Regions from separate parts of the Homo sapiens genome. Here regions 1 and 3 are each linked to region 2. Evidence: promoter capture Hi-C in 16 types of primary human blood cells and fetal thymus (Javierre and others, 2016). All regions are on one chromosome and are shown on one strand. Each heading gives the region's core, a stretch centred on a gene start or on the middle of the fragment in contact. The rest is flanking DNA. Distances are from core to core; before and after follow the strand shown.

Region 1 (4,523 bases), core at 1,877-4,376, 5.5 Mb after region 2:
TCTGTTAACCTCAGTAAAGACAAATTTGACTAAGCCAACACTGTGCTAAGCATTGTGCATGCCATGTCTTATTTCTCATAAAACATATAAGTACTCATATAACATCCTTATAAAATGAGAAAAGCAAAGGACTAAGTCGTGTGTTCAAGATCATACAGCTATTAAGTGTCAGAACTAGGACCTCATCCCTTTGAGTATTATTATTACTTTTTTCTTATTAGAGATTGATACATGACACAGTTTAATTTTGCTCTTATCAAGCACATGGAATTCTCAACTTTTGGTAGATACCATGCAACGTTTACATTCTTTCTGGAACCAGACTTTTCTTTCGGAATTAGTGGTAGAACTTTACTTTCTAATGGTGGTGGAACTGGAAATAACCCACTCCTGACTCTCCCTGGACACAGCATTTCTTCGAAAGTATGGCCAGTTTCTTTTTGCTTTTCATCTAAACCTTTTGAAGGAGTAGTGATGTCTTATCTCCACTTCTTTACTTAACAGACTGCCTCCCCCACCTTACAGCAGTTTGCCTTGCATGGCATGCAATGAGATGTTGCTTAGATCATCAGTAACTTCTAGATTGTCAAATCTAATGGCCATTATTAGTGAACATCTCTTGGGCCTATGTTTTGCATTTGATCCTGATAATTAATTTATTCTCTGAAATTCCCTCTCTTAACTTCCAAGACATAGCACTCTCTTAATTTTCCTCAAATTCCTCTGACCACTCCTTTCTTTCTCCTTTCTGTATTTATTTTTTTTTCTTTTTCTTAAACCTACCCATTATATGTTAGTGTTCTTCTTGGTTCCTTCCTACGCTACCACTGTTCTAACTGCATTCTCTCCCTGCATGATCTTATTTACTCCTATTTTAATTGTAACTTAAGTACTGATGGATCCCAAATTTGTGTCTCTAGATGTGTTTTTGAGTTTCAGGCCAGATATCCAACAATTTGCTGAATATCTGTACCTAGGTGTCTCACAGTACCTCAAACTCAAGACCCCAAACAGAACTCATCATCATATCCTTTGAGGTATCCTCTTCCAGTGTTGACAGTGCTTGATGTTGCCTTCTACCATCAACTAATTACCAAGTCATGCTTCTTTCGCTTCTTAAATATTGGACACATAGGATCTTCCTCTCTGTGTTTGCAACTCTTTCCTCTATTCAGATCCTACTTAACTTGCACTTTACGATACCACCTTTTTGCTTTTCTTTCCTGTAGCTTCATAGCCCTTAAATCCTTCATCCACAAAGTTGGGTATGTGATTGAAACTTGAACCCAAATCTGACTATGTTACTCCTCAGTGTAAACCCCTTTATGAAATCTCTGGCACCAACAGGATCCACTGTGAGTGTTTTAATAATGCGTGTATGGCTCTCCTTGAACTGGCCCTTCCCTTTCTTTCTAGCCATGTCTCTGGACATTTTAGCATCCAGCAGCACTGTTCTTCTGTTCATTGTTATCTCCCATACTCTTTCTCACCCTGACATATTTTTGCTTTTGATGCCCTTATGCCTAGAATTCCCTTTTTATCTTCCTCTAGCTAAGCTGAACTATCCTAGGTTTATTTCTTCTCAAAGTCTCTATGAAGTACTCCTTATGTTCCCCTTTTGTGGCATTTCTTTCTGACTTGGATTCACTAGAACCATAGTAGACCCTCCTGCACTTTCAAAGTTGGATAATGCTTATTCTGTCTCTTCTACATTCCATATTTGTAAGGGGCTTCAGAGTCTTCAGCAGAAATGAAAATATATCTGCAAGAGTTTCTAATTTAGAGATTAAATATCTAAAATAATATCATTTACTAACCAAAGTAGTATTCCAATATCCAGGGCTTAGAAGAGTCTGGATCCACACTTTGCCACCCACTGTGAACTTTAGTGCAAGTTAGAGGTAATTTGAAGAACACTACAGAGAGAAGAGGAACAAAGCTTCTTGGCTTTTGCCTCATTGGGATGATATTTGTATATGCTAGTTGTCTAGAGTTCAAAAACTGTGAGGTTTTGACTAAGTTGGGATAAATCCCCTTTCAATGTATTAGTTGTGATGCCACATTTCTGATGTTAAAAGGAAATAAAACGGAATACCCTTCAGAAACATTTTTTCTGTATTCCAGAATAAAATACACTATTCTCATGGTGGTACCTGCAGAATTCAGATCTTTCCCAGGATGCTATGTGTTCCTTTAGTGCTCCTTATTCTGGATATTTAAAAAACTCAAATTTTACTTTCTACTTAACCCCTACATTCTTGACATACCAAAGAAAAATAATTGAACATGGGATTGAGGAACACAGTATACTCTTCTGAGCATTTTCTTAGAAAAACATTCTCCCTACTTTTAGAATAGATATTTCTGTAGGAAAAATGTGTTCCCTCTGTATTTCTGCATCCCCAGCATGACAACAAAGACAGACATTTCCTTTCTGGCTACCATTTCCTATCTTCAGGTCCATTGGCCTGTGAGGCTTTTCTTCCAGGACACATTGCCTCTCATTCTCTCATTTATCTAAGATGAAAAATGTGCTTTGACAGTTTTCTGAACTGCAGTTTTATTGATGATGTTACTAAAGCCTTTGCCGTTGAGGACCAAACAAGACTCAAAAGTCTACTGACATGTGCCCATCTCAAAACCATCTTTTAGCTCTTGAAAACCAGTGGCATTTTTATGTTTATAAATTGGTTCACATGAATTCCTCAGGGCTTGAGTGACTTTTGAGAGTTACTAGTAGGAGAAAAAAATTATTTTTGCTACCGCATATGCTACTGTAGGGCTTGGCTTGACTCCCCAATTTCTCTTCAGTATTTTGCCTCTTCCAAGTCCTGCTGTTTTTCAGTTTAAACCTGGTTCTTAAGTTAGTTGGCTCTCTTGACGATGTCTAGGTAGAATAAAGCTGTTGGCATGATCCCCCTTTGTTCTTTTTGTTTTCTATAGTTGCCTTTTGTTTTCTTTTTACCGTGTATTAGAACTGATTAGTTAAGCTGATAATATTTGTCCCTGAGTGTCAGATATACCATTCCCAAAACCTGAGAAGCAAATTTGGTTTGCATATCAAATTCTAATTACTTTGTACCCACTCTCACTGTCATTTTCCTTCTGCATTTGAGTAAATCTTGTTCCTAGAACCGGAACTTTCTGGATAGTGACCTTTAATATTTCTTTTTAATGCCTTAGCTTTTGAGTTTGTCATATTTTTGCAGTTTTTTTTTCTCTTCATCAAGTCAAGATGAAACATCCTTACGTAGCCAGGACTTCTTTTCACTTTACTGTTCATTGGCAAGCTCCATCATGCCTAGTTAGCTGAATTGACGCTCACTCTGGGCTTTTCTTATATCCATAGCACAATCAGGATTTGTCCAGTGCTGTTACCAGTGTCACAGTGCCCACTATTCCCACTGACACTAGCTGTTACAGAGCTTGCAGGTAAAGTCTAAAGTAGAAGCTACCTCTTCCCTGGAGATCTTGATACCTTAAAACCAGTTAATGGAGATTATAAAGTAGGATGTGGGAACATTTTGTTTCTATCTCAATTGATATGATGATTAGGTTTAGAGTAACTGATAGGCAATAAAATCAATAGATAAAAATGTATTTTCTCAAAAGAAATACATTTAATAGTAGGAAATTTGGCTTATTAGATTAAAAAGTCTGTTATGACCTTATAGTGAAAAACACAGCATACAGTATAGTGGCTACTTCTCTAGTAGATCAGCTTGAATCCTGCTGACCGATGGTGATTTGCATACTGTCCCAGCATTCTTGAGGCATTCATCCTGAACTGCCTTGCAAACTTGAGATAGCTCCCCACCTTCCCCCAAAAGAAAGGCACTTTAAATAGTATTACTCACAAATTAATGAATGTCCATATTTATACTTGATAATTACTTTTTGCTTTTATCCTCAAATGTACAAATTATATCTGAACTAATGGTAGGGAGGACAGGCATGATTCAAGTTGGGGCTTGGCCTCAAACCCCAAGTAGAGAATTCTGGTGAGCTAGACTGGACCACATGGGAGACCTTTTTTGTTTTGTTTTTATTTTTTATTTTTTGACTTTTTATTTTTTGTAAGCAGATAAACCATATTGACTCAGAACCAAAAAAGGCAGAAACACCTTGTGTCTCTTAAGTCCAAGACTTAAGTCTATGATCTCATCACTCTACTGTAGACCTGTGTATTTCCTTCAGTAAGAAGAACCTGAAAGACTTGAGATAGGCTTTTAATGCCCAGAGTGGAGCCGGCCTGGGTGGCCTTTTCTTAAGTGTTGTGCTGGGCATGGGTGAAAAGAGGGTGGTGGATGAATCAAGCTTCCAGACCCTTTTTATCTCACTGAATGGTAAGAGAGAGAATATACCATATCATATCCATGTACCTTTGGCATTTTTACAGTGTGAAGTTTTCTATTACCACCTATTATGATGTCTTTGAAACAAACCACAAGGTAGATGAAGTCCTAGAGAATGAAAAATTGAGTGTATACCTTTATCTGCCTGAAGAAAGAAGCAGAGGATAG
Region 2 (4,777 bases), core at 939-3,438:
TAAATGGAAAATTGGACAAGGAACTAAGACCAGATTGTATGAAGGAAAAATGTTTTATTCTTCAAGTGTTAACAATAGAAGTTACCACTAACAAATGCCAAATTACTATTTGATATGCCTAAATGGAACATGTATGCTAGCAAATGGCCATTACTCAGAACCAAGGACAAAAGTAAAATCCGGGTCAGAGTGAGGCATGAGGGCCCACTGGACGAGACTTTTCACCAAGCACACTGGATTCTCTTCCCTTCTTTATCTTGGCCTTTGTTCCCTTCATTAGTTTTGGCAAACCATGAAAGAAGATTATAAATGCTTCAATCCCAGTGGAGTTGGAAATAAAGTACATGAAAGAAACACTTAATAAAGAATGTTAATCTGTTTGTGTCATTTAAAAAAAAAAGGAAGGGGGTGTAGATAAAACATTTCCACAACTCTTCTTTAATAAATATCTTAAGTGTCCTTTTACAAAGCACACAGGTAAATTAATGTCATGGTTACAAGGACATCAAAAAAAAAATCTAACCACTACCTTTAATCACTATCTTTTGTTCTAAATTTTTTCTGACTATTTCTAAATCAAATCCAACCTTAAACCTATGACGATTATGCACTAAGTTTCTCTGAAAGCATATACTGTAAATTCTGAAAACAATTTCACAAGGCTGCTCCTCATATGGTTTATATAAGAGCATAATCATCTGATTAAGTGAGGGACAGCTCAAGGTGATTATTTTACAGAGGCCTCATTCACTACTATATACAAGCTCAAGAATGAAACTTCACATCCCTTACAATCCCTAGAGCAGTGTTTTATTTATAGGAGTTCCTCAATAAACACTTGCTGATTTGAATGCATTTAATACCTGAAAATGCTAGGACACAAACAATTTGCTGGGCTTTTTTCAAACTCCAAATCAACCCATTTTCATTACTCTCAACGCTCCTTCATGCCAGTTAACTAGTTGGATGTTTTCCATCACTCGAAAAATTGGCCATGTATATTCTGTTGCCAGGATAGTTTCCATTCTGCAGTGTCTCTCCTAAAAGGGGAGAAACTATTAAATCAAAATGGGGTAACCTCACAAGTATAACTATTACAACTTGTATAATAGCTCTTTTACTTCAAACAACAACGACAACAGAAAAAGACCTGTACCTTTTTAGTGGAACTTATGAATAGAATTATTAGCCCAGTAACTAAAGTTGTATGGTACACAATGGTAGAAGACAAGCTAAAACGACATTGGCCTGTAAAAGTTGCTTTCCTGACCTTTCTCCCTCTTCAAGATGGTTAAAGTCACACACGGACAAATGTTGATGTACATTTAACTTCTCAATGTTGATCCAAGGGGAGAAAAAATTGATCAATGTAGGTGTAATCTTCCCCTAAATGAGGAATATTAGCAAGGAAAAAACAAAAGGATATAGTGTCTGCCTGAAGGAATCCTCTTAGATATAAAATCACAACATTTGCTATGAAATAAACTAGAAAGTTTTAAATGCGTAATTACACGTGCCAGGAGTTATGCCCACGTTACTCCACAGGCCCACGCTAGTGGGTGCCAAAGTCAGAAAACCTGCAGCGGCGGTGAGTCACTCCCCAGCAGCACTCTGGGGAATAAGTGTTGGAGCCACAGCACGTACCCTATGGCGCAAGACCGCTGATTAGAACAGAGGGGAAAGGGGATGAGGAAAGAAGTTTCTTCAGCGCCCGCTCCGGGCACCAGCGCTGTCAAACCTGCCACTACGGAAGCCACAGAACCCGGTTACCCGAGTCACCCCGAGCCCCGCCCACTCAGGTTCCTCCCCGCCTGGGGCGGGGTTGGCGCGCGAGGGCCGAGGGGCGGCCCGTGTCCCGAGACGGCTCCTGGGAGGCGGGCTGCCTGTCTAAGTGGGGGTGGTGGGATTCCGGCGGTACCTGCGCTGGAAGTCCACGGCGTAGGGCTTCAAGTACGGGTCGATCTCCAGGAGTCTGGCCAGTTCGGGCACGTCAGCCAGGGCGGCATTGAGCGCCGCCTCGTAGTCCTCGGGCCGAGCCGCGGGAGTCATCGGAGCCGCCATATTCCGCCGCAGTCCAAGTAGCCGAGGCCCGAGAGGTCGAGTGGGGCCTGAGCGGGCGCTGGAGCTCTAGCTGGGACGCGGCGGCTAGGGCGGAGCCGGAGGGCGCCTAGGCGTGTCGAGGCAAGCCGAGGCGAGCCGCGGCGGTCCGGGGCCCTTTATAGCCGGGACGGAAGGCCTCCTGCCCTTTCTCCCCCCGCCAGCGGGGAGGAGCGGATCCCGGGGTGATGCCGGGACGCACGTCCGGAGCGGGTAGGAGGCACCGAGGCCTCTCCGCCCACTCACGCGGCTGGCACCTGGAGGCCGCAGGGACCTGCCCTTTCCTCCCCTTAACGGTTTTTTCCTGCTGGCGGAGGTCATTCTAGGAGGTGGGTCCCAAGCTGACCTCGCTCAGCCTTGGCCTTCCTCACCCTGACATATTCTTGGCTTTTCTTTACCCACTTAAGCACCCACTGACAGCGACCCCTTCAAATTGGACATAAGGGGTTTTTTTGGAAAGGACCGTATTTCTCAAAGTTCTGAGACTTTTGAGGGGCAGTATTTCAAACATATCATGTAAATTCACAGAGAGGGGAACAGTCAAGTGTAGCTAGAGTACTACTGCTGAAAATGTTAATACCTCTTACAACCAGGACTCTCCTAAGTTTGCCAGGTCACGTGAATTTAAAATTAACCAAGACACAGAATCCTGGAATACCGTTGGAATTCTGCTGTTCTGGTACTCTTTTCTGCATTACCAACAGCTAAGAATTTTAGCCATGGGAAGAACTTTTCTCATTCTCCGTAAGGCCAAAAAGGAAAAGGCATTTGCCTGTGTTTATAATTGTTAACAAGCTTTTCAACGATTAAACTACCTTTGATAACACAAATGATATCATTGAATTGGAACTCCACTCTGCCACTTACAGTGATAAGGCAAGAAACCTCTCTTCCTCTTGGCTTGGGAAGCTCCCACTTGGAATTCCCTTCTTTTATTGCCATTAACTGACTAGCTTCTATTTCAATAATTGCTTTTTAGGAATACAGAGTTGGACTCCAAGAGAGATGGACCCACCAAACCCAGGAGGGTCCAAGCTGCTTTACACCTAGAAACTAGAGAGGATTGAGGATATTTTTCTTGTTAAAACCCAGAACTGGAGGATCCTAGGGGTTATGGAGGAGAAACAGTATTAATCAGCCGTGGGCCTTGAATTTTAAAATATTTCAAAGGAAAGTTTTTATAAGGGGTTTCATAGACTTGAAAGATAAGTGGATATGAAGACAGACCTCAGTGTGAAAAAGTGAAGGACTTGAACGACTTTAAGACGTGCCTTGTTTTCCATAAAGATGACAAAAAACTGCTGCAGACATTTGTAAAATATAAAGCACTAAAAAAGGAAGAAAATTAAAAAAAAATAAAAACCCGAAGCAGGACAACTATTAATAACAGACCCACAGATCTACATCTCCAAGCCTAAACTTTTTTCAGAAACCCAGGCTTGTATCACTGCCTGTCTACTGAGATTTCCATTTAGCTGGCTAGGAGACCTAAACAAACTGTCTGCAAAACGTGACCTAGAATCCGTCTTCTCATCCTTCCTGCTGTCACTCTTATGCAGGCCACTGTTTTCCTTCACTTGGACCAGAATGTAGCTCTCTAACTGACTTCCCCTCTTCTACTCTTTCTCACCTCTACTCCATTCTCTGTACCAGTGTTTCTCACACTTTAATGTGCATATGAATCACCTAGGGATCTTAATTGAGTTCCGATGTGGTGCTTCAGATTGCATTTTTAACAAGCTCAGAAGTGATTCTGATGCTGGTGGTTGGGGACACAGTTTGGTGAGACTCTACACTGAGTAAATCAGACGATGTCATTTAGCAACTTAAATAGCATAGTATTTCACTTAGGGTAAAATAGAAACAGCTTATCATTCTCTAACAAGGCTTGTATAATCTGGACCCTGACTACCTTTCCAGCCACTTTTCTCATCATTTTCCAGTTTTACTATGCTCTAGTCACACTGACTTTCCTGGAACTCAGTGAATTTGTTGTATAATAGCCTCTAAGATTATTTGCTTGCTGTTCTCTCTGTTGGAAATTTTCAGGGAGCTGAGCTCTACTTGCTTAATTTTTTCCAAGCCTTCATTCCAGCCTCAGCAAAAATGTCACCTCATACCTGAGAAACTTCTGATTATAGACTCCTCAGTGTCTTCTGTATAACTTCAATCTCTTCTATGCAACAGTTAACAGAATCTAGGTGTTTGTTTTTCTCCTATTTATTGACCTTTCCCTTTAGAACCTAAGCTCCCCACGAGCACGATCCTAGCGTACATATCTGCCTACCTAGGTGGTTCACCATTGAGCACATATTTATTGAAGTCCCATGTGCCGGCCATTTTCCCACGTACTGTGGATAAATGATAAGACAAGTCCCAGTTGTCATACTCTATTGGGGGTAGGAGGGAGAGGAGACACAATTACCAGTGAAATACATAAAATAATACAAAACAATGTCAGATAGTGGTAAGTGCATTGTCGAGAATTAAAACTGAGCAAATATCTGTGTTAGTTCCGGTCGTCAAGAAAGGCCGTTCAGAACTGACATTTAAGCTGAAGTGTGATGACAAGAAGAAATGAGCCATGAGAGGAAGAGCATTCCAGAATGGCAGAGTTCGTGCAATGGAGGAATTGAATTGGTCTTTTAAAAAAAAAAAAAAATCTAGCATACCCGGTGTG
Region 3 (4,853 bases), core at 288-2,787, 6.4 Mb after region 2:
GGCATGAGCCACCATGCCCAGCCTATTTTTTTTATATTTTATAATTTTAACTTTATTTCATATCCTATCAATCCTGAAGGAAGGAAGAGACCAGTAAAGCAACTAAGAGCAAAAATATTTCTGACATATAGTGATGCATATATAATCATCTATTGATATGTGAGAAAGTATTTTTCAATATCAGCATCATCAAATGAGGACTATTGGATTTTTAGAGAGTAAACTGCAAGGTTAATTTTAACTTTAGCTCCGTGTAATTTTTTTTCACTTTAGAAGAATTTTATTGCAAATTCTTTCTCACTTTTAAGACGTTTTTGGTATTGCAAAAATGTCATGAAAGGAACTTAAAATTTTACTTTAAAAAAAATTTTCTTTTAAGTTCCAGGGTACGTGTGCAGGTTTGTTAGATAGGTAAACATGTGCCATGGTGGTTTGCTGCGCCTATCAACCTATCACCTAGGTATGAAGCCCAGCATGCGTTAGCTATTTTTCTTGATGCCCCCGCCCCCACATTGGAACCTAAATATTTTTTATACTTTTTTTTTTTTAACTAGAAAAAGTCCTATTGTAGAAATATTCTCCAGCGGACATTGGCTGTTTCTGTTCTTTATATTATCTCCACTGTACATTTTAGATACTGCACAAATATTTAAGTGTTGCTTGAATTAACCTCTATGTAATTTGCAGATTTTTAAACTACATACCACATTTTTTGAATTAATGAGGTTTCACAGTGAGAAAGCTTTGCCTTCACACTAGGAAAGAATCTTTAAGAGCTTTCTTACTTTATGTACTGATAAGAGCATTGACTTTGAAATCATACAAATACGACTTCAAATTAGGGTCTGCAATATACTAGGTGTGTTAAATTAGGCAAATAACCAGTGCCACGCACAGTGCCCAGTGTATTAAATAGCAGGTGCTCAGTAAACCTAAGATCTCATACATCTCAGTAAAGTACTGTGTTGTGGAACACATGGATGAATGAGATCTAGTGTATCAGGTAGATTTTTACAGTAACTTTTTTTTTTTTTTTTTGAGACAAAGTCTGCCCTGTCACCCAGGCTGGAGTACAGTTGGCATGATCTCAGCTCACTGCAGCCTCCACCCTCTGGGTTCAAGCACTTCTCCTGCCTCAGCCTCCCAAGTAGCTGGAATTACAGGCATGCGCCACTACACTCAGCTAATTTTTGTGTTTTTAGTAGAGACGGGGTTTCACCATGTTGTCAAGACTGGTCTTGAACTCCTAACCTCAAGTGATCTGCCTGCCTCAGCCTCCCAAAGTGCCGGGATTACAGGCATGAACCACCACGCCCAGCTTACAGTAACATTTTCTGTGAAAAAAGAGAAATAATAGAATAAAATTAATCCCAGTTATAGAAAATAACCTGTTTCAATCACCGTAAGAGTATCTATTTAAAGACAATGAAAATGCTTGCTTATATTAACTTTATGTCATTTATATGCAAAATGCATCCATTTAAAGTGAACGTTTTGAAGGTTTTCACATATATACCTGTGATATACATATATACCTGTGAAAACACTGCCACAATCTGAGGAAACACTTACATAAATCATCATATAATTTATATATTTTTATATATGACTGTTCATACTGATTTTTTTTTTTTTTTCACACGGAGTCTCGCTCTGTTGCGCGGGCTGGAGTGCAGTGATGCTATCTTGGCTCACTGCAACCTCCACCTCCCAAGTTCAAGTGATTCTCCTGCCTCAGCCTCCTGAGTAGCTGGGAATACAGGTACACGCCACCATGCCCGGCTAATTTTTGTATTTTTAGTAGAGACGGGGTTTCACTATATTGGCCAGGCTGGTCTCAAACTCCTGACCTCACCATCCGCCTGCCTCCTCCTCCCAAAGTGCTGGGATTACAGGCGTGAGCCACCACGCCCGCCAAGTTCATACTGATTTTTAAATTGGCCTTACTAAACCTTACTCTCTTAGCTGAATTTTCAGCAATTTAAGCTGGAAATTTCTAAAATGATTTTTCTCCTCTTGAAAAAAGATTTTTACTATGCATAATGGGTTCAGCAAGTTCACATATGGTTCATTTCTCTCTGGTGTAATGGGTTCATTCAAACTTAATAGGCTAGATAGAAAAATAGATATGAAAGTTAAACCTTAGTGTTATTTTGTATTTATTTTATTTGTTTCAATCAGCAGGTGAAAGAAGATAAAAAAGCTGAAAAAGTTGATTTTCGTCGCCTAGGAGAAGAATTCTGTCATTGGTTCTTTGGACTTCTTAATTCTCAGAATCCTTTTCTAGGACCACCTCAAGATGAATGGGGACCACAGCACTTCTGGCATGATGTGAAGCTTAGGTTTTATTACAACACATCAGAACAAAATGTTATGGACTACCATGGAGCAGAAATCGTGAGCCTTCGTTTGCTGTCACTAGTAAAAGAAGAATTTCTTTTTCTCAGCCCCAACCTAGATTCACATGGACTGAAATGTGCATCTTCTCCTCATGGGCTGGTTATGGTTGGAGTTGCTGGGACTGTCCATCGAGGAAACACTTGTTTGGGCATTTTTGAACAAATTTTTGGACTCATCCGCTGCCCTTTTGTGGAGAATACTTGGAAAATCAAATTTATCAACCTGAAAATTATGGGAGAGAGTTCCCTTGCTCCTGGAACATTACCGAAACCATCTGTTAAATTTGAACAAAGTGATCTAGAGGCCTTTTATAATGTAATCACTGTATGTGGTACCAATGAAGTACGACATAATGTAAAGCAGGCTTCGGATAGTGGAACTGGGGACCAAGTTTGAGGTAGTGGAAATGAGACATTGCTGAACAAAAGAGAACTGGGTTTACCTGACCCTCTAAAGCGCTAAGTACTGTCAGCCTGAAAAAAATCTTCTATACAGAAACTCTTCCAAATACTATATCAGTAATGTCTGAATGATTTCAGATGTGAAAATTGACATATTTTAGTTGAAATACCTTTCTGGACTACAGACTTACATATCATGTGAATACTTACCTATTTCTACCCGAGTTGCAGCAAGTATTCTGAAAGCTTAATGCAAATAAATCCCACTTTAGATCTTACAGCTAACTGTGTGCCTTAGAAACCAGGTAATATTTTCCTTTTACTTAGTGAATATTCTGCTAATATCTGCACTTTTCATGTGGGAAAGGATTAATAATGGTCCAGGCTTCCCCTCTTTAAGTTTCATGTTTACTTTTGTCTAACTCTGGATAATTGTATTTTACAAATGCATCTCACTGTAGTATATTTTTAAAACTATTAAATATTTTAGAGATGTTTAACGTAAACTCAAAGTTCTCATTTTAGAAAATTTAAATAACATTCTTTTTGCAAAAAAGTCCAATAATTTAACAGTTGAAGAAAAACTTACTACCTCTTTAAAGATTTGAGAAACATTTTTCAAAGTTATCAGCTGTAGTCCAAGCTAAATATCTTTTGTAATCTGCAACATTTTCCTTACTGTTTTTGGGCAGTGATAAATGCTGTTCTCGAAATAGACTTTATTCTTACCTAGGCTTCAGACAACAGTTTTATAGAGCAGTTACTGTAATACAATATAAAGGAAATATGCTGTTGAAATTTTAAAGGTATGCCCAGTTCCTAACTTTTAAACGAATTACCGTTCTTCCTCTTGGCTGATCTTGGCAGAGATGACAAAAAAAACCCCAAAACAACCCATGCATGTATAATGTGTGTATACACATATACATAAGTATACATATACTCCCACATTATAACTTAGAATATTTAGTTTTTTACCTGTTACTAGGTTTGAGTTACATGGTTGAGTTGCCAAATTATTTACATGCTTTGTTTAAATTCTTCATCACCTAGCAACTGTTTGCTGATCATGGATTTACTTAGTTACTTTAATTTATAAAATTACCATTTGGAAAAGAACTCAATTGGGAAATGTGATGACGTATTGTACATGTTACTTTTTCCTTTGCTATAATCATCTAGGGAGACTGATAAGAATTTTGGAAATGGGAGCCTGGAAACTCATCTTTGTTTTTTTAATGCTATGCCTCTTACGAGGAATACGAATTGGTATGTCCTAAAATAAGAACTTAATAAAGGAGGGAAATCCCTTTTGTCTGCTATAAGAATAGTGTATCGTTCAGATTTAATTTATAGTTGTGTTGCTCTTAGAGTTTTAGGCATTTAACGAGAACAAAGAAAATTTTATAACTGCTAGTTACACTGTTATTGTAATATAATTAAGTATAAAGAAAATAGTGTGCAAAATAATTTCCTCTCATATTTTTATAAAGGTACACAATCAGGTCACAAGTCCATCTTTATCCATCCTATACCTCTGCTTGAGTTTTGAAAACTGGGTTACCTTTTATTTCTTAGTTTGAAGTTTGAAATATCATTATAAAGTGTAATAGGTAAACATCCTAAGTAAAGGATAAAATTAAAAACCATTCTTGTTACTAGAGATACTCAAAAAGGGCAGGGATTTCCTCTAGGTACCTTTAGTATTAAACTTTTGAGTTCGTGTAAAGCACAAATAAGGCTGCAATTTCTGCACATAGTTTTGAATCAACCTTAAAAATGTAAAATCTTTTTGATAGTCTTGAGATTCTTGAGGATTAATGCTATTTTATTTCATGTTTATTTCATGAATCCCTAGATATGGGCACACTACAGCCTAATATTGGAGTGAATGCATTAACGAATGAGCAAAAACAACTTATATACTGTGTACAAAAGGCTTTTCCGCTTCTAGAGTTTATCTTTGGTTCTTCTCATCAGTGTTACTTTTTCAGTCACATAGTTTCTTTGAATTTCATACTTGAATACGCAGAAACTTTTAGGCCCCCAAAA

What was found. Contacts are between HindIII fragments. The CHiCAGO score rates a contact against its expected background, and 5 or more counts as called.
Region 1: a fragment that was not itself captured here is called in contact with the fragment with the promoter of GBE1 in region 2 in 2 of 17 cell types (total CD4 T cells and total B cells); the score reaches 8.1 in total CD4 T cells.
Region 3: a fragment that was not itself captured here is called in contact with the fragment with the promoter of GBE1 in region 2 in 1 of 17 cell types (total B cells); the score reaches 6.4 in total B cells.

Annotation. Positions count from the first base shown.
Region 1 is chr3:87,230,242-87,234,764 of GRCh38, forward strand. All of the region lies in intron 1 of CHMP2B (charged multivesicular body protein 2B), which reads left to right. Among named protein-coding and RNA genes, the nearest start is that of CHMP2B, 5.2 kb to the left of the region's middle. The HindIII fragment of the contact is 2,378 bases long and covers 1,938-4,315 here.
Region 2 is chr3:81,759,457-81,764,233 of GRCh38, forward strand. GBE1 (1,4-alpha-glucan branching enzyme 1) reads right to left here and starts at 2,189. Exons shown (of 16, transcript NM_000158.4): 1 at 1,919-2,189. The coding sequence starts at 2,061. RefSeq lists enhancers at 1,468-1,637, 1,978-2,267, 2,054-2,662 and silencers at 1,738-1,817, 2,318-2,417. The HindIII fragment of the contact is 5,689 bases long and covers 1-2,890 here.
Region 3 is chr3:88,153,840-88,158,692 of GRCh38, forward strand. It overlaps C3orf38 (chromosome 3 open reading frame 38), which reads left to right. Exons shown (of 3, transcript NM_173824.4): 3 at 2,182-4,126. The coding sequence ends at 2,796. Among named protein-coding and RNA genes, the nearest start is that of C3orf38, 6.3 kb to the left of the region's middle. The HindIII fragment of the contact is 1,595 bases long and covers 741-2,335 here.